Regions from separate parts of the Homo sapiens genome. Here all the other regions are linked to region 3. Evidence: promoter capture Hi-C in 16 types of primary human blood cells and fetal thymus (Javierre and others, 2016). All regions are on one chromosome and are shown on one strand. The core of a region is centred on a gene start or on the middle of the fragment in contact, and the rest is flanking DNA. Distances in the headings are between cores, read along the strand shown.

What was found. The method cuts DNA at HindIII sites, captures the fragments that hold promoters and counts their contacts. A CHiCAGO score of 5 or more calls a contact.
Region 1: the fragment with the promoter of IFNL3 here is called in contact with the fragment with the promoter of EID2B in region 3 in 3 of 17 cell types (neutrophils, erythroblasts and monocytes); the score reaches 10.9 in neutrophils.
Region 2: a contact is called between a fragment that was not itself captured here and the fragment with the promoter of EID2B in region 3, in 1 of 17 cell types (neutrophils). The highest score is 5.0, in neutrophils.

What each region holds. Positions count from the first base shown.
Region 1 is chr19:39,243,401-39,247,368 of GRCh38, reverse strand. It overlaps IFNL3 (interferon lambda 3), which reads left to right and starts at 2,363. Exons shown (of 5, transcript NM_172139.4): 1 at 2,363-2,581; 2 at 2,875-2,952; 3 at 3,212-3,361; 4 at 3,462-3,545; 5 at 3,639-3,816. The coding sequence starts at 2,402. The coding sequence ends at 3,737. It also overlaps the pseudogene IFNL4. The HindIII fragment of the contact is 30,036 bases long and covers 1-3,968 here.
Region 2 is chr19:39,139,019-39,142,717 of GRCh38, reverse strand. The region is part of intron 1 of PAK4 (p21 (RAC1) activated kinase 4); the gene reads right to left. Among named protein-coding and RNA genes, the nearest start is that of PAK4-AS1, 4.3 kb to the right of the region's middle. RefSeq lists an enhancer at 3,092-3,681. The HindIII fragment of the contact is 8,541 bases long and covers 1-3,699 here.
Region 3 is chr19:39,531,446-39,535,501 of GRCh38, reverse strand. EID2B (EP300 interacting inhibitor of differentiation 2B) reads left to right here and starts at 2,650. Exons shown (of 1, transcript NM_152361.3): 1 at 2,650-4,056. The coding sequence starts at 2,700. The coding sequence ends at 3,185. It also overlaps the pseudogene CRIPTOP7. The HindIII fragment of the contact is 7,702 bases long and covers 1-3,972 here.

The DNA of each region.
Region 1 (3,968 bases), core at 1,114-3,613, 290 kb after region 3:
AGGGTTAGCCCGCAGGGAGGACCAGGCGAGGCTGACAAGGACGGGACTGAGGCTGCGAGCAGCGGGACTGGAGGGGGATTCCGGGGGCGGGGGGAAGAGCCTGGCTTAGCCCCGCTGCCCTCCCTCCCTGGCTCCAGGACTCGCCTCGGTGCCGCAAAGCCAGCGTGGTCTTCAACCTCCTGCGCCTGCTCACGTGGGAGCTCCGGCTGGCTGCACACTCTGGGCCTTGCCTCTGACCCCGCCCCCTCTGGCAGCACGGAAACCTCCACGCCATTGGCTGCCGAAAGCAGCTCCTGTCGTCCATTGGGCTGGCCGGGCGAGGCTCTCAGTCAATGGGTGCTGAGGCACGAAAACTTCTTCGCAGCCTTGGGCCTGACTTGGATCCACTGTCTCAGATATAAGAGGAGCGGGTCCTTCTACAGGGAAGAGACCACAGTTCTCCAGGAAGCCACGATATTTCCTCGGGGTGCATTGTACGACCCTCCAACGGTTGCTGTGGCAGGAAAAAACTTGAGCTCTGGAAACCGTGGCTGACCCCAGGCAACAGGGACCAGTTCCTCCTTGTGTGGTTACCAGGACACCCCCAACACCAGGTCCTAACCCCGGATTTGTAGCCCCACAGCCAGCTTTGAGATTCTGTGAATCCGTGACTCTTGGATCCGGCATCTAAGGGACACCAATCCATGAGGGATTTGGTAGTGAAAGGCCCAAGGGTCCTTAACCGACTGTGGTTCTTTGGATTCCCTTACGTGTGTTTGTATTTGTGAAGTTCCTGTGCATTTGCTATTCTGTCTCCCGGTTTAAATTTATTGCCAGTTATCAAAGAGTGTTTTGATCGCATTGGTTGTTTTCCGTATGATGATTGTGAGGTGCACCTTACAGCAAAAAAAGAGGCCGAGCCAGGGACTCAGGTGGCCTGAGTTTCAGTTCTGACCCTGCCAGTTAATTACAGTGGAATTCAGGGCAAATTACTTTTCTGAGCCTCTGTTTCCTCACCTATAGGATGGGTTAGCATACTTGCCTTGTGGAGGAGTAGTGTCCGTTGAGATCACGTTTTAAACTCTCCAGCTGAGGTCCTAGTATGGTCTTAATGAGTGGATTCTATTAAATAATCACTCACATAAATACACAAACAATTGTGTTATTAATTTTTTCTCCAAATCTGTGCATTAGCAATCTGCGTTGCTGAATGCACCCCTCCTTGCCAAGGTCACACGGCTAGTGAGGGTCAGAACCAGGTTTGAACCCCAGACCCTTCATCTCCAAGACCCATGCTCTTCACCACTGCCTGAACTTCCCTAAGAAAGACGGCACCCACGTGGTGTCCTTCAAGTCCTTCGTCACACCTCAATTCTTGAGCAGAGCCTCATATTCCTGAGTCCTTCCTTGCCTGGGCAATTAAGAAATATTGGCCTCTGGGCATGGTGGCTCACACTGAAATCCCAGCAATTTGGGAGGCCTAGACAGAGAGATGACTTGACATCAGGAATTTGAGACCAGCCTTGCCAACATGGTGAAACGCCATCTCTACTAAAAATATAAAAATTAGCTGGGAATGGTGGCACAAATCTGTAATCTCAGCTACTTGGGAGGCTAAGGCAAGAGAATTGCTTGAACCCAGGAGGCGGAGGTTGCAGTTAGCCAAGATTTTGCACTGCACTCCAGCCTGGGTGACCGAACAAGACCCTGTCTCAAAATATATATATATATATATATATATATATGCCAGGAGTGGTGGCTCAGGCCTGTAATCTCAGCACTTTAATAGGCTGGGTGAGGAGGATGGCTTGAGCCCAGGAGTTTGAGGCTGCAGTGAGCTGTGATCATGCCATTGCACTGCAGTGACAGAGTGAGACCCTGTCTTAAACAACAACAAAACCAGAGCAGGTGGAATCCTCTTGGGAACATACCTTCCTGTAGGTTACCCCTGAGTCTCCATCAGTTTCTCTTTCCCTCCAGCTGCTCATCTGGCTCACTAGCCCTGCCCTGCTCTGGGCTTTCCCAGCCTGGGGCTCCCCTGGTGGCCGGTGTCTTACCTGAGGCTGTGTTTTCACTTTTCCTACATCAGCTGGGACTGCCCTTCTGTCAGGGATAAAAGCTGCCCCATGGAGCTCAGGCAGGAATTACATCCCAGACAGAGCTCAAAACTGACAGAAAGAGTCAAAGCCAGGACACAGTCTGAGATCCAGAAGAGGGGACTGAAAAGAACAGAGACTCCAGACAAGACCCAAACAGACCCTGGGTGACAGCCTCAGAGTGTTTCTTCTGCTGACAAAGACCAGAGATCAGGAATGAAACTAGGTGAGTCCCACATCTCTGTCCGTGCTCAGCTCCTGCAGCCCCTGCCCTCAGTGGGCAGCCTCTGCATTCCCTCAGCTCCCTTTCTCTCTGTGACACAGACATGACCGGGGACTGCATGCCAGTGCTGGTGCTGATGGCCGCAGTGCTGACCGTGACTGGAGCAGTTCCTGTCGCCAGGCTCCGCGGGGCTCTCCCGGATGCAAGGGGCTGCCACATAGCCCAGTTCAAGTCCCTGTCTCCACAGGAGCTGCAGGCCTTTAAGAGGGCCAAAGATGCCTTAGTGAGTCTCCCCCTGCCCTCCTGCCATGGACTAGCCTCCACCCGCACTCCAAGGGTCACCATGCTTTCCCACTCCCAGCTTCCTTCACTGGGCTAGCCTCCACCCTCCCTGCAGTGGGCTATCTCATGCTCCTACTGCAGGGACTGACTCATGTTTTCCTGAAGAAGAGGGTCCTCTACCATCCTCCCAGCAGTTAACCTCCCCTATCCTGTTGTCAGCCATCCTCCAATCCCATCAGAGTGGTCTAACCTCCACCCCTCCTGCTGGGGCTAACCTGTGCCTTTGCTGTCTAGGAAGAGTCGCTTCTGCTGAAGGACTGCAAGTGCCGCTCCCGCCTCTTCCCCAGGACCTGGGACCTGAGGCAGCTGCAGGTGAGAGGGGGAGTCAGGCCCACCCCTGCCCTCCCAGCCCTGCTCACCTGGCTCTGTAGTGGCCCCTTCACCTTCTCCTTCTCCATTGTCCCTCTCTCCTCTCCCCACACCTGCTACCCCTTCCCTCTGCTCCTACCTGACCACACTGGCTGTGCCCTCTCCCCTGTGCCTGTCACCTTCACTTGTTCCTCTCTATCCTCCTCCCCCAACCTGTTCCCCTCACCTCCCCCCTCACCTGCTCTTTCTCACCTCTCCTCAGGTGAGGGAGCGCCCCGTGGCTTTGGAGGCTGAGCTGGCCCTGACGCTGAAGGTTCTGGAGGCCACCGCTGACACTGACCCAGCCCTGGGGGATGTCTTGGACCAGCCCCTTCACACCCTGCACCATATCCTCTCCCAGCTCCGGGCCTGTGTGAGTCGTCAGGGCCCGGGCACCCAGGTCTGTGAGCTCTGAGCAGCGTCCTTCCCCTGGCCAAGGCCCCGGCTCACACACCGCCCTCCTCTGCCCACAGATCCAGCCTCAGCCCACGGCAGGGCCCAGGACCCGGGGCCGCCTCCACCATTGGCTGCACCGGCTCCAGGAGGCCCCAAAAAAGGTGAGTGACCCGGGAAGAGAGGGACTGAGGTCTGGGGAGCCACTGGGAGCCCAGAACCCAGACAGCCCCTGACCCATCCCCTCCTCCCTACAGGAGTCCCCTGGCTGCCTCGAGGCCTCTGTCACCTTCAACCTCTTCCGCCTCCTCACGCGAGACCTGAATTGTGTTGCCAGCGGGGACCTGTGTGTCTGACCCTTCCGCCAGTCATGCAACCTGAGATTTTATTTATAAATTAGCCACTTGGCTTAATTTATTGTCACCCAGTCGCTATTTATGTATTTGTGTATGTAAATCCAACTCACCTCCAGGAAAATGTTTATTTTTCTACTTTTTGAAATCCTTGTTGAAATAAACAATGAGGAAAAGACACCCATGACGTGGGACTGTGTGTGCGTTGGTGTGTATTTCCTTTGCATTGCTGCC
Region 2 (3,699 bases), core at 873-3,372, 390 kb after region 3:
ACGCGATGCGGAAGGGGTTGCCAGGGTGGGTGGCAGCAGCTCTCAGCTGGAAGCCTGTGGCCCTAGCAAAGCAGGAACCAGAGGCCCACATGTTAATGCCACTGGTTTACTTGAAGCCGGGGCACCCAGCCTATTGCTCCCAGGCCCCGGGGGGTGGGGAAGGGGGGACCCGAGCCTCAGTCCTTTGGTCCCTCCCACCCTACTTCTGCTGGATCTGGGTACCAGCCTTACTAGGAGTGACTTCAGAGTGTTCTTCTCAACCCACTCGCTTTTTTAAAAAAAACTTAATTTTTACTTGAAAACTGAACTTGACAGTCATACAGACATGTAAGTAATTCTGATGCTCATCCAAGCAACCACCTAAGAAAGCGTGCTTGCCAGAAGAAACTGAACCTGCATCAGATCGAGCTTCTAGACCTAAGTCCTAACTTACAGGAAGCACAGAGACAGAGAACACGTGCAATGACACCACAAGGATGTATCAGCTGGCCCCAGACTGCAAAACTCCAGGACAAATGGCCTAGGTCGCCTGTAGAAAAACTACGACAACATGCACGCCAAAGAGCTGATGCCAGTATCTGAGCATGACGGCGCACACCTGTGGTCCCAGCTATTCAGGAGACTGAGGCGGGAGGATTGCTTGAGCAGGGGAGGTCAAGGCTGCACGTGAGCTCTGATCGCTCCACTGCACTTCAGCCTGGGTAACAAAGGGAACAAAACAAAACAAAAAAAAGAGGCCTATCAACCGGATGCAAAGTGTAGACCTTGTCCAGACCCAAATCAAACAAATGGGCCGGGCGCCGTGGCTCACGCCTATAATCCCAACATTTTGGGAGGCCGAGGCGGGTGGATCACTTGAGGTCAGGAGTTCGAGACCAGCCTAGGAAACTCTGTCTCTACTAAAAAATACAAAACTTAGCCAGGCGTGGTGGCGGGCGCCTGTAATCCCAGCTACTCGGGAGGCTGAGGCAGGGAGAAGTGCTTGAACCTGGGAGGCGGAGGTTGCAGTGAGCCGAGATCGTGCCACCGCACTCCAGCCTGGGAGACAGAGTGAGACTCTGTCTCAAACAACAACAACAAAAAACAAATGAAAAAGGATTATGGCAGGGTACGGTGGCTCACGCCTATAATTCCAGCACTTTGGGAGGCTGAGATGGTTATATCACTTGAGGTCAGGACTTCAAGACCAGCCTGATCAATATGGTGAGACTCCATCTCTACTAAAAATACAAAAATTAGCCGGGCATCATGGCACACGCCTGTAGTCCCAGCTACTCGGGAGGCTGAGGCAGGAGAATCACTTGAACCCAGGAGGCGGAGGTTGCAGTGAGCCAAGATCGCACCACTGCACTCCAGCCTGGGTGACAGAGTGAGACTCTGTCTCAAAAAAAAAAAAAGGATTATAAGACAACTGGGGAAGCATGAGGAGACTGAGGCAGGCTTGTTCTGGAAAAGTGTGGAATATTTCTGGCTGTACGACGTTTGGGATTTGCTCTGAAATAAGCAGGGAGGTGAGGAGCAGGCACAGGCGACAAGGCCTGGCCACAGCTGCTACCTGCTGAGCTGCTGACAGGGACCCCAGGAGGGCGCGAGACTATTCTTCTGGGTATGTGTGAACATTTCCATAATACAAAGGTGTTCAACATTTTACCAAAGGAAATGTGACCTCATCGTAATGGCAAAGAATTATGGATCACTCACCCTGTGAATCCTAACTACTAAATCCAAGCACGGATCCTGCCTCTCTAATAAGTGTAATGGTAATAAGAGTACTAGTAACCAGAATGGCATAATGACAGTGGCCCTGTTCTGAGCATCACACAGCAGACTCACTTCATCCTCCCAGCAACCCTGGGAGGCAGCAGGAATCATTATCCTCCTGCTCCAGATGTGGGAACTCAAAAACATCTGAGGCTCAGGGCCTCGCCCAAGGTCAGAGGATGCTGTGCCGGAGCAGGGAGAGGCTGCAGGTGGAGCTGGACTCCTGAGCCCTTCGCTGGAGAGGGGTAGGGGGAGAGGAGGCAAGGGGAGCCCTCATCCCTCAGTGAGTGGGGACATACGGGACCATCAGCTATCAGTCCCCCCTAGTCCCATCAAATAATAAAGGCTCTTGCAATGTAATATTCGCCTTTCTAGCACAAACCTTTGTTGCAATTAAACTACTGACCGACAGGCAGTCCTACCCACAAAAGCTGAAACATTAACTGGCAGTAGAGGACTCCCGGGACCGTAGAGGTGGCTGGTGTCACAGGGCATGTCAGAGTCAACCCGTGGGGACAGTCCTCCCTGCAAACTTGCAGAGCCAGCCCTAGCCACCCTTGGACTGTCAGTCAGATGGTGTGTTGCCCCCAGCCCCAGACTCCACGTGTCAGGAGCTGTTAGGGAGGCCAGCGTGGTGACATCAGCATCCTTCCCCTCAGAAGGATGTCCTGGGCCTGCAGAACCCATCTCCCCTCTGTGGCTTCAGCCAGATCCTGCCTCAAAACACAGAAATCTGGGAAGTTTCTGCCAGGGGAGGAGGGAAGCTGAAATGCAGGAGGGTGGGGTGGGGAAGGGAGATAAGAGGCAGAAAAACAGGGAGAGAGACAGAGGTGAAACAGAGAAGGCCCAGACAGACATCTGGACAGACCAGAAATGGGAAGATAAGACAGTGACAGAGACTGCCATCGCCAAGCTCGAGGCCTTCTCTGGGCCTCAGTTGCCTTATCTGGAACACAGGAATCACAGTCACATGTCCCCGTAGCGTGCCGTGACTTAACCCCTCCATGTCAGAAGCCTAGAAAAGCACCCAGAACATGCCAAAAGCTAAAACACATTTGTTGCCATTCCTGCAGGCCAGCAGCCCTCACTCCAGCTCAGAAGCATGTCAGAGTCGCCAGGGGAGCATTAAAAAACCCCAAGGCCCAGACCCCACAGCTGTACAGTCAGCTTCAAATGGTCCAGCTTGGGCCCCTGCAGTGCCTCCCACCCCGGGTGACCCTAAGGCGCAGCCAAAGGATAAGGAGATTGGGGAGTGGGCAGGAGGATGGATCCAGCCCTGAGACCTGGATGGGGGAGGGTGTAAAGAGAGACTGAGACAGACTGATGGAGTGGGGGGAGGGCAGTACCCAGAAGGCCCTCTCTGGCTCACCTTCCCCCACTTAGGACCATCAGGAGTCTGGGGCCTGCTGAGGAATGCAAGGAATGAAGTCAGGCCTGGCACAGCCATCTCCAGAGTCCCCTCCCCATTCGCAAACTCCCATGAGGTGTTCCTGGTCCAGCCGCCTCCAAGCCATCACTCAGTCCTCCCTGAACACCCCTTCCCAGCCCCCTCCTTGGAGCCCAGGTCCCGAACCCTTTATCCCGCTGGGTACCCCGACACTGGCCCAGCTCAGGCATCCCCCTCAGTGTACTTCTCAGTGTCTGCAGGAGTTGCAGCAGATGAACAACCATGATCCCAAGAACTGGCAAGGGGCCGTGCGGCTGATCACCAGCTCTGACAGGAGGGAGGCCCGAGGAGGCTTCCCAGAGGTGCTGACCTTTAAGCCAAGACCCACAGAATAAATGAAGTCCGAGCACTCCACAAAGGCCAGCGAGGCTGGGGTGCTGCAGGAAAGTGGGGAGGGACGGGCCCTGCCAAAGCTGCTGGAGGGACAGGGCCAGCCCCTCCCCAGCCAGCCATGGGCTGTGGGGGATGATGTGAATCAGGGGAGGAATCGG
Region 3 (4,056 bases), core at 1,401-3,900:
CAGGAGTTTAAGACCAACCTCGCCAATATGGTGAAATTCGGTCTCTACTAAAAATACAAAAAAGTTAGTCGTGCATGGTGGCACATGCCTGTAATCCCAGCTACTGGGGAGGCTGAGGCAGGAGAATTGCTTGAACCCAGGAGGCAGAGGTTGCAGTGAGCTGAGATCGTGCCACTGCACTCCAGCCTGGGTGACAGAGCGAGACTCCATCTCAAAAAAAGAAAGAAACACTGGACTTGGGTGCAGTGGAGATATGGCTGACTTTCTTTTGAAAAAAGAAGTCGTTTTTTGGGAGAGGGCAGGGCAAAGAAGTAAGAAGTTGTTGATACTGTAAGGAAATGTTAGAGACCATTTTGGAAATATACTCATTATTTTAAGTAAACTAACAAATGATCATCTTTCATTGTAGCAGCAGCTTTTACTGGTCATGAAATTTGCATGATATCTAAAATGGTATTTCTGGAAATAGGTCAGTGTCAATTAATAGTAACTTTGTATAGAAAGGCAGATGCCAGCTAGCATAAAAGTGGTACATGCAGACGGTGGTAGTTCTGGAGTCCTGGAAGCCATGAGATGCTCATCCATCACAAGGCCATCACAGCCAGTAAAATGCCTGAGGAAAGCAGCAGAGCTGGCCGTGCCAGCATTTACACAGGGAACACTTCTTGGGCAGCCAGGTGTCATGGAGCACAGACCCACAGTTCTCTTTGCACACATCGTGCTCACAGTTCCATCCATAGAAGGACGGGGGGCAGGCACAAAAGGACCCCAATGCAGGTTCCCCCATTCAGGCAGCAGGTTCTGCTTAGCTCCTTACTGTCCTGTATCCCCATGGGCAGCACACGCTGGGAAGACTGAGGCCGAATTGCAGGCTCCTCCTGGGGCCGAATGCTGTCATTTCTGAAGGCCAGGTCTCCCTGAGATGGACACGCAAGTTCCTGATGACCCAGCCCAGCAACTAATCCCAGTTCAAAGGCTTCAAAATGGCCATGATCCAAATCACACTGGAAGAGAAGCAGGCCATCTTCCTGCAGTCCATAGCTCTGTTGTTGTCCCCTTGAAGTTACCTTCCAGAGAAGTCCTTTCTTTTGTCTTCTGTGGAATATCACAAATGTGCTTTTTGAAGCATATATGTCACATGTAGGAGAACTCCATCTCTCCAAGAGAACTGTAGAAACAAAGTAAGGTACACGTGAGTCAGAATGATTTCCAACCCAATCAGCTCCCAGACACGACCTGTGATAGGTCAGAATTTTTAGATGGATCCTCCTGAAGTTCAATTGCCAGCAACTCTCATATTTGGATTCCAGCTAAATTCAAAGGATTTTTTTTCGAGACAGGGTCTTGCTCTGTCATACAGGGCTGGAGTGCAGTGGTGCAATCATAGCTCACTGCACAGTCCACCTACCAAGCTCAAGTCATCCTCCCACCTCAGCCTCCTGAATAGCTGAGACTACAGGTGCACATGCCACCATGCCTGCCTAATTTTTTTTTTCTGTAGGGACAGGGGTCTCACTATGTTGCCCAGGCTGGTCTCAAACTCATGGGCTCAAGCGATCCTCCCACCTTTGCCTCCCAACTTGCTGGGATTACAGGCATGAGCCACTACACCCAGCCACAGCTGACTGATTTTAAATGGAACATAGACTTTCACGTTTTGGGTTATCATCAGGATCAGAGCTAGCCACACAGAAAGGCTAACCATATCATTAGAGAGTTGGGGCTTGGAGCCATGTGATATCAGGTAGGAGGCTGGAGATTGACTTCAACAAAATGGACGATGGTTTAATCAAGCATGCCTAGGTAGTAAAACCCCAGTAAAAACTCTGGACACCAAAGCCTGGGTGAGAGTCCTATGTTAGCACTACCCCCACACTTATTGCCACACATGGACGACAAAGGGTAACACATCCCTAGGAACACAGGAACTTCACATTTGGAACCCTCCCCATCCCAGATTGTGCCTTATACATCTCTTCTAATCTGTGTCCTTTGCCTGTAATAAGCATGACTGTGAATATAACAGATTTCAATGAGCTCTGGGAATTATCAAACCTAAAGGTGGTTTTGGGAAACCCCCAAACTTCCAGTGTCAAAATATTACTTACAGGCCAGGCCGAGTGGCTCAGGCCGGTAATCCCAGCACTTTGGGAGGCCAAGGCAGGATGATCACTTGAGTCCAGGAGTTCGAGACCAGCCTGGGCAACATAGTGAGACCCAATTTCTACAAAAAATAAAAAATCAGCTGGGTGTGGTTGTGTGCACCTGTAGTTCCAGTTACTCCAGAGGCTGAGGCAGGAGGATGGCTTGAGGCTGGGAGGTCAAAGCAGCAGTAACCGAGATCGCACCACTGCACTCCAGCCTAGGCGACAGGGCGAGACCCAGTCTGAAAAAAAAAAAAAAAAGACAGGAGCTGGAAAATGACCGTATAAGGAACTTTACATTAATACTGAAGTGGTTGTAATTTAAGATACCGCGCAGTCCGCAGGTCCTCAGGCGCTCAGAGGACCAGAGGCGGCTACAGACGTAATGGCTACTCAGGACCGCTAGGGAACGCTAGAGGATTGGCCACCGTGCTTACGCATGCGCACACTCTGGCACGCACAGCGTTTACGCGCTCACTGAGACTCGCGCATGCGCAGGTCTCGCATACAGCAGTGCAGTGCCGTTATTCCAGTCTCCGTAGAAACGCTGGGACTATGGCGGAGCCGACTGGGCTGTTGGAGATGTCCGAGCTCCCCGGAGATAGCAGTGTCCCACAGGTGGGCACCGCGAGTGGCGTCAGCGACGTACTGCGGGGGGCAGTCGGCGGCGGGGTTCGGGTGCAGGAGGCTCGGGAAGGCCCAGTGGCCGAAGCTGCGCGGTCCATGGCGCGGATGCCGGGCCCTGTGCCCGGGCCCATCCCCAGCAGCGTCCCGGGCCTGGCCTCCGCGCCAGACCCCCATCAGCAGCTCGCTTTCTTAGAAATTAACCGGCAGCTGTTGTTCCGCGAGTATCTGGATGGTAGCTCCATGATTCCGGTCAGATTACTACGGGATTTCGAGGAACGCCGCAGGCTGTTTGTGGAAGGCTGCAAGGCGAGGGAAGCAGCCTTTGACGCGGATCCCCCGCAGATGGACTTCGCTGCTGTCGCGTTTACGGTAGCGCTGACTGCCTCCGAGGCCCTCAGTCCTCTGGCCGACTGAGTCGGCTGTGATGATGACATTGGTGGCAAGGAATAGCCAAGTGACCCTTTTGGGATCAAAAGAACAGGCAGGCTGTGCCAGTTTAGTTAACTCAGTCATTAGGGGGAATGCAAACTGGAAGGGAATACGGCAATGTGCAATTGAAGGAGGAAGCACACTCCGAAATGGAAACAGACAAGACTGTTGAATCTTGTTTTCTTTCTTCTTTTTTAGTATTATTTAAATAGAGAAGGGAGTCTCGCATCCCTAGGCTGGTCCCGAACGCTTGGACCCGAGCGATCCTCCCGCTTCGGCCTCCCAAAGTGCTGGGATTACTTTACAGGCGTGAGCCACCGCGCCCGGCCGAATCTTGTTTTCAAACAGGTCCCAAGACACTTCTGACTTAGCACTTTGTTAGCAATGCATTTTCCTGCATTTGTGAAGAATCCTTCATGACTTTCACCATAAAGGATGGTTTTGCAAAGATATGAGAAAAAAAAAATGCCAATAACAGAACCCATAGAAATGAACCTAAGTGATGAAAGAAAACAAAGAAATAGAGTTGTCAGGAATCCAGGTGTACCTGAGTTACTAGGATTGGAAGGCTATTGAGAGGACTTTGAAATTTCACAATTTGTGGTCATGTCAACAAATCCTAGTGTAAGATTCATATTTGTGTTTTCTGAGGTACTTTAGATGAACAGTAAATATTCAATAGAAAAAACCACGTATTATATGATCAGTGTTTTCAAGTCTATGTGAAATTGGGTAGGTGTGGAATAAACTTGTTTTTTGTTAATTTTAAGCTTTTTATTTTATTCTAGAATATGTATTCTATTCACAAGACTCAACAAAAAAAAGTATCGGCCGGGCGCACTGGCTTACGCCTGTA